Regions from separate parts of the Homo sapiens genome. Here all the other regions are linked to region 3. Evidence: promoter capture Hi-C in 16 types of primary human blood cells and fetal thymus (Javierre and others, 2016). All regions are on one chromosome and are shown on one strand. The core of a region is centred on a gene start or on the middle of the fragment in contact, and the rest is flanking DNA. Distances in the headings are between cores, read along the strand shown. Region 1 overlaps VIRMA (vir like m6A methyltransferase associated). Region 2 holds the start of PABPC1 (poly(A) binding protein cytoplasmic 1). Region 3 holds the start of MTDH (metadherin).

What was found. Contacts are between HindIII fragments. The CHiCAGO score rates a contact against its expected background, and 5 or more counts as called.
Region 1: a fragment that was not itself captured here is called in contact with the fragment with the promoter of MTDH in region 3 in 2 of 17 cell types (total B cells and naive CD8 T cells); the score reaches 9.7 in total B cells.
Region 2: the fragment with the promoter of PABPC1 here is called in contact with the fragment with the promoter of MTDH in region 3 in 1 of 17 cell types (total B cells); the score reaches 5.5 in total B cells.

The regions. Positions count from the first base shown.
Region 1 is chr8:94,548,519-94,551,874 of GRCh38, reverse strand. The region is part of intron 1 of VIRMA (vir like m6A methyltransferase associated); the gene reads left to right. Among named protein-coding and RNA genes, the nearest start is that of VIRMA, 3.3 kb to the left of the region's middle. The HindIII fragment of the contact is 4,218 bases long and covers 1-3,356 here.
Region 2 is chr8:100,719,799-100,723,399 of GRCh38, reverse strand. PABPC1 (poly(A) binding protein cytoplasmic 1) reads left to right here and starts at 1,312. Exons shown (of 15, transcript NM_002568.4): 1 at 1,312-2,009. The coding sequence starts at 1,817. RefSeq lists enhancers at 185-685, 686-1,186, 1,241-2,073 and silencers at 476-1,185, 1,266-1,345, 2,026-2,135. The HindIII fragment of the contact is 6,173 bases long and covers 1-3,601 here.
Region 3 is chr8:97,642,640-97,645,918 of GRCh38, reverse strand. It overlaps MTDH (metadherin), which reads right to left and starts at 1,735. Exons shown (of 12, transcript NM_178812.4): 1 at 1,032-1,735. The coding sequence starts at 1,412. RefSeq lists silencers at 606-774, 1,058-1,127, 1,398-1,857, 2,038-2,147 and enhancers at 1-904, 905-1,885. The HindIII fragment of the contact is 3,502 bases long and covers 1-2,520 here.

The sequences.
Region 1 (3,356 bases), core at 277-2,776, 3.1 Mb after region 3:
TTTGATCTTGTTGCCCCAGCTACTCGGGAGGCTGAAGTGGAAGGATCATTTGATCCTGGGAGTTCAAGGCTGCAGTGAGCTAAGATCACACCACTGTGCTCCAGCCTGAGCAACAGAGTGAGACCCTGTCTCGAAAGGAAGAAAGAGAAAAAGGAAAAAGAGAAAGAGGCATGTGATGAATTAGTTTAGTACTATTCTAGTTTAGGAAAATTGGCCTTCATTAGTTTATCATGTATTTCTATTCTTTTATTCATTCTTAGGTAAACATTGAATACCTTGAGAGCATAGGGCAGATGGTAAATGCTTTCTTCTGGGGTGATTGGGGAAGGCTTAGCAGAGATCACATTTAAATCAAGTCTTGAAGGAGGAAGTAGGGGTTTGTGGGTGATACGAAATATTGAAATGTTTGTTTTCAAGAAGTTATAACTCAGTATTGGAGATTAGATTCACAAAATTGTGATTTGAGTTAGAATGTGATGATCACATAAAGAAGCACAGTGTGAATTCGTTGGGGTTTATCATCTTAGTTTACAAAATGCCCATCAGTATCTGACGTATTAGAACTAGCTCCCTTTGTGGGTATAAATAAAAGATACAAGATTTCAGAAGAGGCAGAGATAACTTTTCATTTGAGTGTATCAGGAAAGACTTCATCAAGGTGTTTGGCTTATGAACTTGGTCTTTGGTGAAAGGGGCAATATTTCACAGTTGTAGTTAGGAAAGGAGGGCATTCTACTGGGGTAGTCAGTCGTCTGTTAGGGTATGCTTGAAGTAGCAGTGTGAAGTGGCACCCAAGGCAATTCAAAGACAGATCATGGAGCTCCTTGAATGCTCGACAAAGAATTACAGACTTTAGGCCAGGCGCAGTGGCTCACGCCTGTAATCCCGGCACTTTGGTGAGGCTGAGGTGGGTGGATTGCCTGACGTCAGGAGTTCGACACCAGCCTGGGTAACACAGTGAAACCCCGTCTCTACTAAAATACAAAAAATTAGCTGGGCGTGGCGGTGTGCGTCTATAGTCCCAGCTACTCGGAAGGCTGAGGCAGGAGAATTGCTAGCACCCGGGAGGAGGAGGTTGCTGTGAGCCAAGATCACGCCACTGCACTCCAGCCTGTGCGACAGAGCAAGACTCTGTCTTTTAAAATAAATAAATACATAAATAAATAAAAATTATGGACTTTATTTTGTAGGAAATGGGTAGTTTTTGAGCAGGCGAATCATACAATTAGTAAGATACATTAGATAGATTACTTGATCAATAATACTTAAAATGGTTCAGAGAAGGCCAGGCGCCGTGGCTCATGCCTGTAATCCCAGCACTTTGGGAGGCCGAGGCAAGCGGATCACGAGGTCAGGAGATCGAGACCATCCTGGCTAACATGGTGAAACCCTGTCTCTACTAAAAATACAAACAAATAGCCGAGCGTGGTGGCAGGTGCCTGTAGTCCCAGCTACTCAGGAGGCTGAGGCCGGAGAATGGCGTGAACCCGGGAGGCAGAGCTTGCAGTGAGCCGAGATTGTGCCACTGCACTCCAGCCTGGGTGACAGAGCGAGACTCCGTCTCAAAAAGAAAAAAAAAAAAAATGGTTCAGAGAAAATAGAGGTGAGGTGACAAAATCAGAGAGAAAAAGTGAGATGTTATGAAAACCTGAGTTAGCCAATGGGCAGTAAGCATTGTTTAACATTTATTGAATGCTTAATTTGTGCCAGACACAGTGGGCTTTGATAACTTAAGTAAATCATCTCTGGTCCTTCCATCAGTTTTTTTTTTTTTTTTTAAGACTAGGTCTTGCTCTGTCACCCAAGCTGGAGTGCACTGGTGCGATCACAGCTCACTGCAATTTCTCCCACCAGGGCTCAATCGATCCTTCCATCTCAGCCTCCCGAGTAGCTGGGACTACAGTTGTGCACCAACACGCCTGGCTGATTTTCATATTTTTTTGTAGAGACGGTGTTTTGCCATGTTTCCCAGGCTGGTCTTGAATTCCTGAGCTCAAGCGATTCTCCCACCTCAGCCTCCCAAAGTGCGAAGATTACAGGCGTGAGCCACTGCAGGGCCCACGCTGAGTTTTCAAAGGTAGTCATCTACATTTTATAGATAAGGAAACTGAGCCTGAGAGATGAGGTGACTTTCCTAAAATAGCATAGCTAGATTAAGATCCACCATCATACATTTTTCTGGCTCTAAGGCAGTGCTATGCTGTGTCCCAGTGGAACTACGTAGGAGAGGATTTATACAAGTTTTGGATATGTACAAATTTCGAGTATAGAATTGACAGGATGGCAACTGATTATGTGAAGGAGATAGGGTAGTTAAAAATGGTAAAATTCTAGTTTTAGAGACAGGAGAACTAGTGGGACTAATGATGGTAAGAGTGTGGAAGTGAGTTTGATGGGAACGGGATAATTAGCCAGATTAATTTGCCCCATAGGAAGTTGAGAATCTGTTTAACAATTATTTATGAAAAACACTTTTGAAGGTGAGGGTATGGCTTTAGGAGGGGCAATACAAGTCAGAACAAAGCCCATTGCCCTTGATTTCAAAGGAATTTGTAATATGGTAGAGAAGAGACATTTATTAGTTTCACACAGGGAATCTTTATTGCCAGCTGCCATTAACAGCTCTTTTTTTGGTATTGTATTTGTTTTACCAATAATTTCCTCTTCTCCACATAAACAATTGATACACATTTATAAGGCCAATCCACTGAGTTCAGAAGATAAGCAGTTAAACTTATTAAAAGACAATTTGATTGTGAGGGAATAGTGTTCCCGTGAATGAAAAAACACTTAACATTACAAATCAAGAATGCAAGATAAGCCAGGTGTGGTGGCATGTGTGCCTGTAGCCCCAGCCTGGGAGGCTGAAGTGGGAGGATCACTTGAGCCCAGGAGTTGGGAGGACAGCCTGGGCAACATAGCAAACGCGGTGGCTCATGCCTGTAATACCAGCACTTTGGGAGGCTGAGGCAGGGGGATCACGAGGTCAGGAGATTGAGACCATCCTGGCTAACCTGGTGAAACCCTGTCTCTACTAAAAATACAAAAAAAATTAGCCAGGCGTGATGGTATGCGCCTGTAGTCCCAGCTACTCAGGAGGCTGAGGTAGGAGAATGGCGTGAACCTGGGAGGTGGGACTTGCAGTGAGGCTAGATCGTGCCACTGCACTCCAGCCTGGGCGACAGAGCGAGACTCTGTCTCAAAATAAATAAATAAATAATAAAAAAATATAAAAAAGCACACTATATCTCTAATGTTAACATATACAATATTAGAAAAAGTTGTTTAAGTTAAAATCAGATTTAAGCAAGGTTATTTGGTAAACAAGTATATGAGTGGAAAGCTATTGTATTTGT
Region 2 (3,601 bases), core at 63-2,562, 3.1 Mb before region 3:
AGTGCTTTAAAAACTGTAAAAGCACTTTACTACTTTCGAGTGGAATTTGTATGTTGATTTAATGTCATTCCTAGAGCCGGTTTTTATTACTATCAATTCGTTAAATTTAGCATTCCTATTAAAACCCACTACTAATGTGCAGAATTGTTTTAGTTATTTATAAGGACGTTGTTTTAGACTATTCCTAATTTTGTCTGGTTGCAGGGCTGTGGTGCCATATAGTAGTGATTGTGACAAACCCGTACTTTCAGGAAAAACATTCACTTTTCTCCACTCCTGGTTTCTATCGCCAAGAAATGTCTGGCAGAAGCAGCACAAATCAATGATTCCAGCCTAGCACCTTAAGGTAAGAAGTGACCAAAGACCCCCAACACAGCTATCCCAAATTAAAGCCACTTTGACCAACGACAACGTCCAGTGAAGACACGGAGGAGGGTCGGGCTGGAAAAGAAGAGGACGAGGAACCCGAGGGGCCCTCCCCTCTCTCTCCCTGCCCCCCAACCCCGCGCCGGGAGCTCCAGCGGTGCCGGGGTCCAGCGCGCAGGACGGTTGGGGGGTCCCGGAGCGGGCGGCCAGGACCCGCGCAGCCAGTTGGTGTCAGCGAGCGCCGCGGCCGTTGGGGACTCCAGCTCCCAGCAGGCACCGCTTCTGCGGCCGACGCGCGTGGCGGCGGTGCCGGCTGGGACTCGTAGTGCGGTCCGGGTAGGAGAGAGCAGGGGGCCACGCTGGCTCCATCTACGCACGTTTCGGAAACCGGGCCCGGAGGGGACCACGCCCGCTCACCCGTGCCCGGCGTCCCCCGGAGCTGGGGCTAGAGGAGCCGGGCCGGCCGCAGCGGGAAGAGGCCACAGGCGGCCGCGCACGTGGGGGGTGGTTAGCGCGGAGGAACCCGGAAGCCCTTTGCACCGCCCACCGCCGCGGTGACGGGTTAACGCTCCTCCTGGTGGAGGCAGGGGCGGGCGGGGCGGAAGGCGGGGACGCCTCAGCCAACACCCCCGAGGACCGCCCGCGAGCCGTCCTCCCCACCCCCACGGACGCGACGCAGCGCGGGCTCCGCTTCCCCGGCCGCGGCGCCTGCGCAAAAGCCCCGCCCCTTCGCCCGAGCCCCACCCCCACACCGCAGCCTCCACCGCCGCCACCTCTCCCTTCCTCTCTGCTCTTTCCTCCTGTTTTCTCTTCCCTCCTCCCCCTGGCCTCCGCGTCTCCTCCTACTCCGGCGCTGACGCTCGCGTAGGGGCCCTGGCGTCAGACGCGCGGGGGCGGGGCGAGTGCGGCGCGGGGTATAAGTAGAGGGTGCAGGAGGCGGTGCTTCCCCTTCTCCCCGGCGGTTAGTGCTGAGAGTGCGGAGTGTGTGCTCCGGGCTCGGAACACACATTTATTATTAAAAAATCCAAAAAAAATCTAAAAAAATCTTTTAAAAAACCCCAAAAAAATTTACAAAAAATCCGCGTCTCCCCCGCCGGAGACTTTTATTTTTTTTCTTCCTCTTTTATAAAATAACCCGGTGAAGCAGCCGAGACCGACCCGCCCGCCCGCGGCCCCGCAGCAGCTCCAAGAAGGAACCAAGAGACCGAGGCCTTCCCGCTGCCCGGACCCGACACCGCCACCCTCGCTCCCCGCCGGCAGCCGGCAGCCAGCGGCAGTGGATCGACCCCGTTCTGCGGCCGTTGAGTAGTTTTCAATTCCGGTTGATTTTTGTCCCTCTGCGCTTGCTCCCCGCTCCCCTCCCCCCGGCTCCGGCCCCCAGCCCCGGCACTCGCTCTCCTCCTCTCACGGAAAGGTCGCGGCCTGTGGCCCTGCGGGCAGCCGTGCCGAGATGAACCCCAGTGCCCCCAGCTACCCCATGGCCTCGCTCTACGTGGGGGACCTCCACCCCGACGTGACCGAGGCGATGCTCTACGAGAAGTTCAGCCCGGCCGGGCCCATCCTCTCCATCCGGGTCTGCAGGGACATGATCACCCGCCGCTCCTTGGGCTACGCGTATGTGAACTTCCAGCAGCCGGCGGACGGTGAGCGCCGGGCTCCGCGGTCGGCCGGGCGGGCGGGCGGCCATGAGGCTCGGGCGGCGGCGGCGGGCGGGGTAGGCCGGCGGGCCCGGGGAGGGGGGCGGGAGGGCATGTCACCCCGCGACGGCCGGCGGGAAGGCGCCGGGGTCCCTGGAGCCGCGTTTCCCGAGCCGGCGGGGACCCGCGCTGCCGGCAGCCACACGCCCGGCTACTTCCTCCTTTGCGACCATTTTCTCGGCCTCAGACGCTCTCAAACTTTAGGGTGATGACGCGCCGGGAGGGTGGGTGAGATTCGGTTCCTCCGCGGCGCTCCCGCCAGTGGCCCCGGGATTCTGGGGCGTTGAACGCTGAGCTCCTTCCGTGGGTAAGAGGTGGAGGCGCTCCCACCACCCGGAGCTCCTGCCGGCGCCCCAGCCTGGGGAGGAAGTGCAGTTCTGTGCTCGAAAAATACCACGTGTTGAACCCTGTAACCTCGCAGGCCCGAGGCCTGCTTCTGCTCCTGCTCCTGGCCCAGTCGCCTGGGGGAGCCACCAGGCCTTAGGATAAAGTTCCTGTGGCGATGTGTGGTGTGGTGGTGGTCCTCAGGCTTGTGAGTCCACTTCCCAGAACTCATCAGTGACTGATGGATCTAGGAATGGAATTTACCGGAGACATGCATTTGGGGTTTCCCCTAGATCAAGCATTTCTCTAACATTAAAAGGGCAGAGTGGGAGGAGGGGATGTGGCAGCCGACCACTTTGAAGGCCAGTTTTCTCAGGCAACTTAGACCATTTTTAGTCAAATTTTATCTTAGATTCACAGTACTGGTGGTTTTCGAGTATATTATGTTACCTTCTGAAATAGTTCCTGTCGTTTTGAGGGGCTTTTCTTTATAAAATAGTCAACTTTGGCTATAAAATGTTACTTTAGTGTAATTCCAACTGGACCAGTCTTATCTGTAGCATGCAAGAAGTTCAAGTTTCTCTTTTATTTTTAAAAGTGGCCCATGATACCTGTAAATCTTGGGAAATGACTGAGTACAAAATAACGGAGATTAAATTGAGCTTGAAATTTATGGGGGAAATGCAGCTAACTTTGTGCTTTTATTTTGAAGCTAAACAGTTAACAGAAACACAATTTTGTAAACAGATAATATCTGTGGTCTGTTGAGTTGCTAGGATTTGTCTTTAGATCAATTGGCTTTGAGAAGTCAGCTTAATTCCATTTTACGGCCCAATTTTGCCTTTTTCCCCCCCTACAGGCTGGCCACTTGAATACATGTCAAATAATCGAAATATGAAGAATTCATTTTTATTAGAAAAGGCCTTAAGGGTGGAATTTAAGCTCCTATTAACATTCATTCAGTAGAACTTAGGTTACTGATCAGCTCTTCACTGTGTAAAGTTGATACTGATTTTGGAAGCAGAATATTGAGTGACACAGAGCCAGAAGTTGTAAAACTGCACTGCAGGTTTCCTGCCCTTTTGCTCTGTAAGCAGTAACTCCAAATGTCACTTCATAACAGTTCTTGTCAACCTTAGGCAGGATGTATCAATGCATGTCAGATGGGGGTAGATAACTTTGGGGCAGGTTATCACAACCTAAGAGTTGGTGGA
Region 3 (3,279 bases), core at 486-2,985:
TACTGAATTGTACTGAAAAGGTGAAGATCTTAATTCGCTGGATATAAAAATAGGTTAGGTGCTGTTTCTAACTCTGCATACCCTCCATAGTCTCAATTTGCTCAAATGTAAAATATTTTTAAAAATACATAAAACTATGAAAGATATAATGGGAGAACCATGGGAATGGCAATAAAGAATGTAAACGTAAAACATGAAGGCCTAAGACAGACGTGATGCCCTCTGCAACTTCCACACGTGGCCCAGTAAATCGGTGCCTGAATTCCTCTCTCGGCTTTCACCATTCTGCCCTGTCATCTCCCTTTACTCTATTTCACAAATCTACCACGCCACAGAGTGTGCAACAGACTCGTTCGTTGAACTCGCCTTAGCTCTTTCTCACAGGACCATACACCTCAAAGCGTATTAGGTAACCGACCCCCTCTTGCCTTGCTCCCGTTCCGGCCTCTGTTGGCCACATTTGCCAGAACAAGAATGGGCAACCATTTCCCTTTAACAGTCCCAACTAAAATGGAAGCGCGTCTAGACCTGGACACCTTTAATCCTGTGTAAGCCCCAGAATTTCTAGGTCACCGCACTTCTTCCACTGCCTACTGTCTCAATGTGACTTGAGATAGACATCTGTCTTCCGAGCGCAGTCTTTATACAACTTCCTAACACCACCTTAAGGTCCCATTACGCTCCACATGCAGCCTACTCTGCAGGCCTCAAGGAAGGATGCTGTGCTTATTCTAGCGGTGACGGTTCCCAAAGATGGCTTGACCTCTGGGCGCCTATCTGAACGGACCCCCAGACCTCCTAACTTCCTTCCTCGAAACTGGGCTTCCCCACTCGTCCTATACTTCCTGAGTTCCCCCCATTCCCCAAATAACATGACCACCTATCACCTCCTCCTCCACTTGGGAGTGCTGCCTCTCGGCTTTCGACTAAGCACTCTTTTCCTTCCCGGCTGGGGCGCGGCCTCCCCCAAGCTCGAGGGTCTCCACGCCCGCCCTTCGCCCGTTCTCTACTGCCGCTCATCCCATACTCACTTTGGGCTTCTCGGACAGTTTCTTCCGGTTCTTCTTCTTCTGTTCCTCGCTCCGGAGATTCTTCAGCAAGGCCAGGTCGTCGGGGGCCGCGGCCGGCACGGCCGCCGCCTCCTCCCGCTTGCGGGGCGGGCTCCTCCGCTTTTTGCGGGCGCCGGCGCAAGCCGCGGCCCAGCCGTAGCCCAGCAGAAACAGCAGCAGCAGCCCGAGCGCGCCAGTGCCCACCAGGATCACCCAGCCGGGGTACCGTTTCGGCTCCAGCCCCAGGTCGAGGCCCAGCTCGGTGCGCAGAAAGCCTAGGCCGACCGAGAGCATTTCCCGCAGCCGGGCCGAGCCCTCCTCGGCCTGCTGGGCCAGCTCGTCCTGCCAGCTCCGTGCAGCCATCTTCCCTCCCGTCAGAGGGACTCGCAGGATGACGCCGGGGCGCGGAGACGCAGTGGAATAGTCGAGGGAAGCGAGGAAGGGCCGGGCCGGGTAACCTCAGGCCGAGCGCATCGCGGCCGTCCCTCGCGCCGGAGCCGGGGATCGGCCGCTGCCACCGCGGGGAGGGCGGAGGGGTCTCCCAGGTTCCCCGCTGTCAGCCTCACTCCGCCGCCGCCAGGAGACCCGGGAGGCGGGAGGGAGTGTCTCCAGTGGCGGCCGCTAAGCGGCGTCTCGGCGCCAGCGCCAGGCCCCGCTGTCCTCCCTCGGCGGAACAATGGCGGCTTGGGCCGCGATCCACGCCGCGCGCGGGGACGACCGTGGGTCACGTGGGCGCCAGTGGGCGGGGCGTGGGCGTCACGTGGGGGCGGGCGGGGTCGGGTGGGGCAAAGGCGTGTCAGGGAAGGTTGGCGGTGGTCGGTTCGGGCCTGGTTAAGACGCGGCGTTGGGGACCCGTTACTGTAGACCAGAAGCTGGGAGGGGTTAATTGGTGGACGCCTTCGCGGGGTGGCTGGTGGCGCAGAGTTAGGAGACGTGGCGCAACGAATGAGTACAGAGGAGGGGCTCCGTGCAAGGCGGGGGCGGGCGGGGGGCGGGTAGGGCTGCAGCGCTAGGAACCGGGTCACCGGGTCTAGGTCAAAGTCGCCCTGGCAGGTATAGGGCTCTTCATGCCTTTTTCTGGAGTGTTATTGAGGTGGAATCGCTTTTTCTCCCTGGTGGCGCCAGTTGGATCCTTCCAGAATGAGCTCAACGGAGTCTGACGCCGAACACTGTTCTTCCGGGACCTAGGTTTAGTTCACAAATTGGGTATTTCTCTCCAGGGTGTTTCTCTCCAGGGCAACTAATACACTGCGTGCCTACCAGTTGCCAGCCTGGCGAGGGCACGTTTGCGTCGTTTGGCTCATTCACTCTTGCTCTCTGTTGTTAGTCCCCAGAATTCAAAAGTTGGAAAGCCCGTGGGCGGCACTATTCTTTTCCTACTAATTTGTAGCTTTAATAACACATAAGGGGAAGCACATTAGATTGTATTTACTTATGGAGGGAGCTTTCTCGTTACGTTTTATTTTAAGCTTTTCTACAACACTGCAAAAGGGGTTTGCAAAAATTCCATTTTTATATGCTATGTTGACCATCTCTGGGATGCAGCTATAGAAGGAAACGAACTGCCTTTTCAAATTTTTTTTTTTTGAGACAAGAGTCTCGCTCTGTCGCCCGGGCTGGAGTGCAGTGGCACTATCTCCGCTCACTGCAAGGTCCGCCTCCTGGGTTCAAGCCATTCTCCTGCCTCAGCCTCCCGAGCAGCTGGGACTATAGGCACCCACCACCACGCCCGGCTAATTTTTTGTATTTTTAGTAGAGACGGGGTTTCACCGTGTTAGCCAGGATGGTCTTGATCTCCTGACCTCGTGATCCGCCCACCTCAGCCTCCCAAAGTGCTGGGATTACAGGCGTGAGCCACCACGCCAGGCCTTCAGGTTTTAATTATAAGGGAAATGCTTGAAGGCTGCCTTAGGGTTTTAAGATTATATTTTGCTATAAGGAAACTCTGTATTTTATCGGTAAATGATCATTAGCGTGTAAGCAACTGTCTTAAGTGAACTAAATACAGGCTTTCTCAAGGAATACAGCAGGGGTAATATTAATAACCACCAAATACCAAAAATGTATTTTGACCTATTTTGCAACAGTGTCGTAATGCATATTGTGATTCATGTGTGGAAGGGAGTTTTGTAAATAATAAATAATAAAAGCATACTACACTTGCCAAGACTTATGATTAAAGACTAAATTAAATTAGGAGGCCAAAAACTTAGCAAATGTTATTGGGATC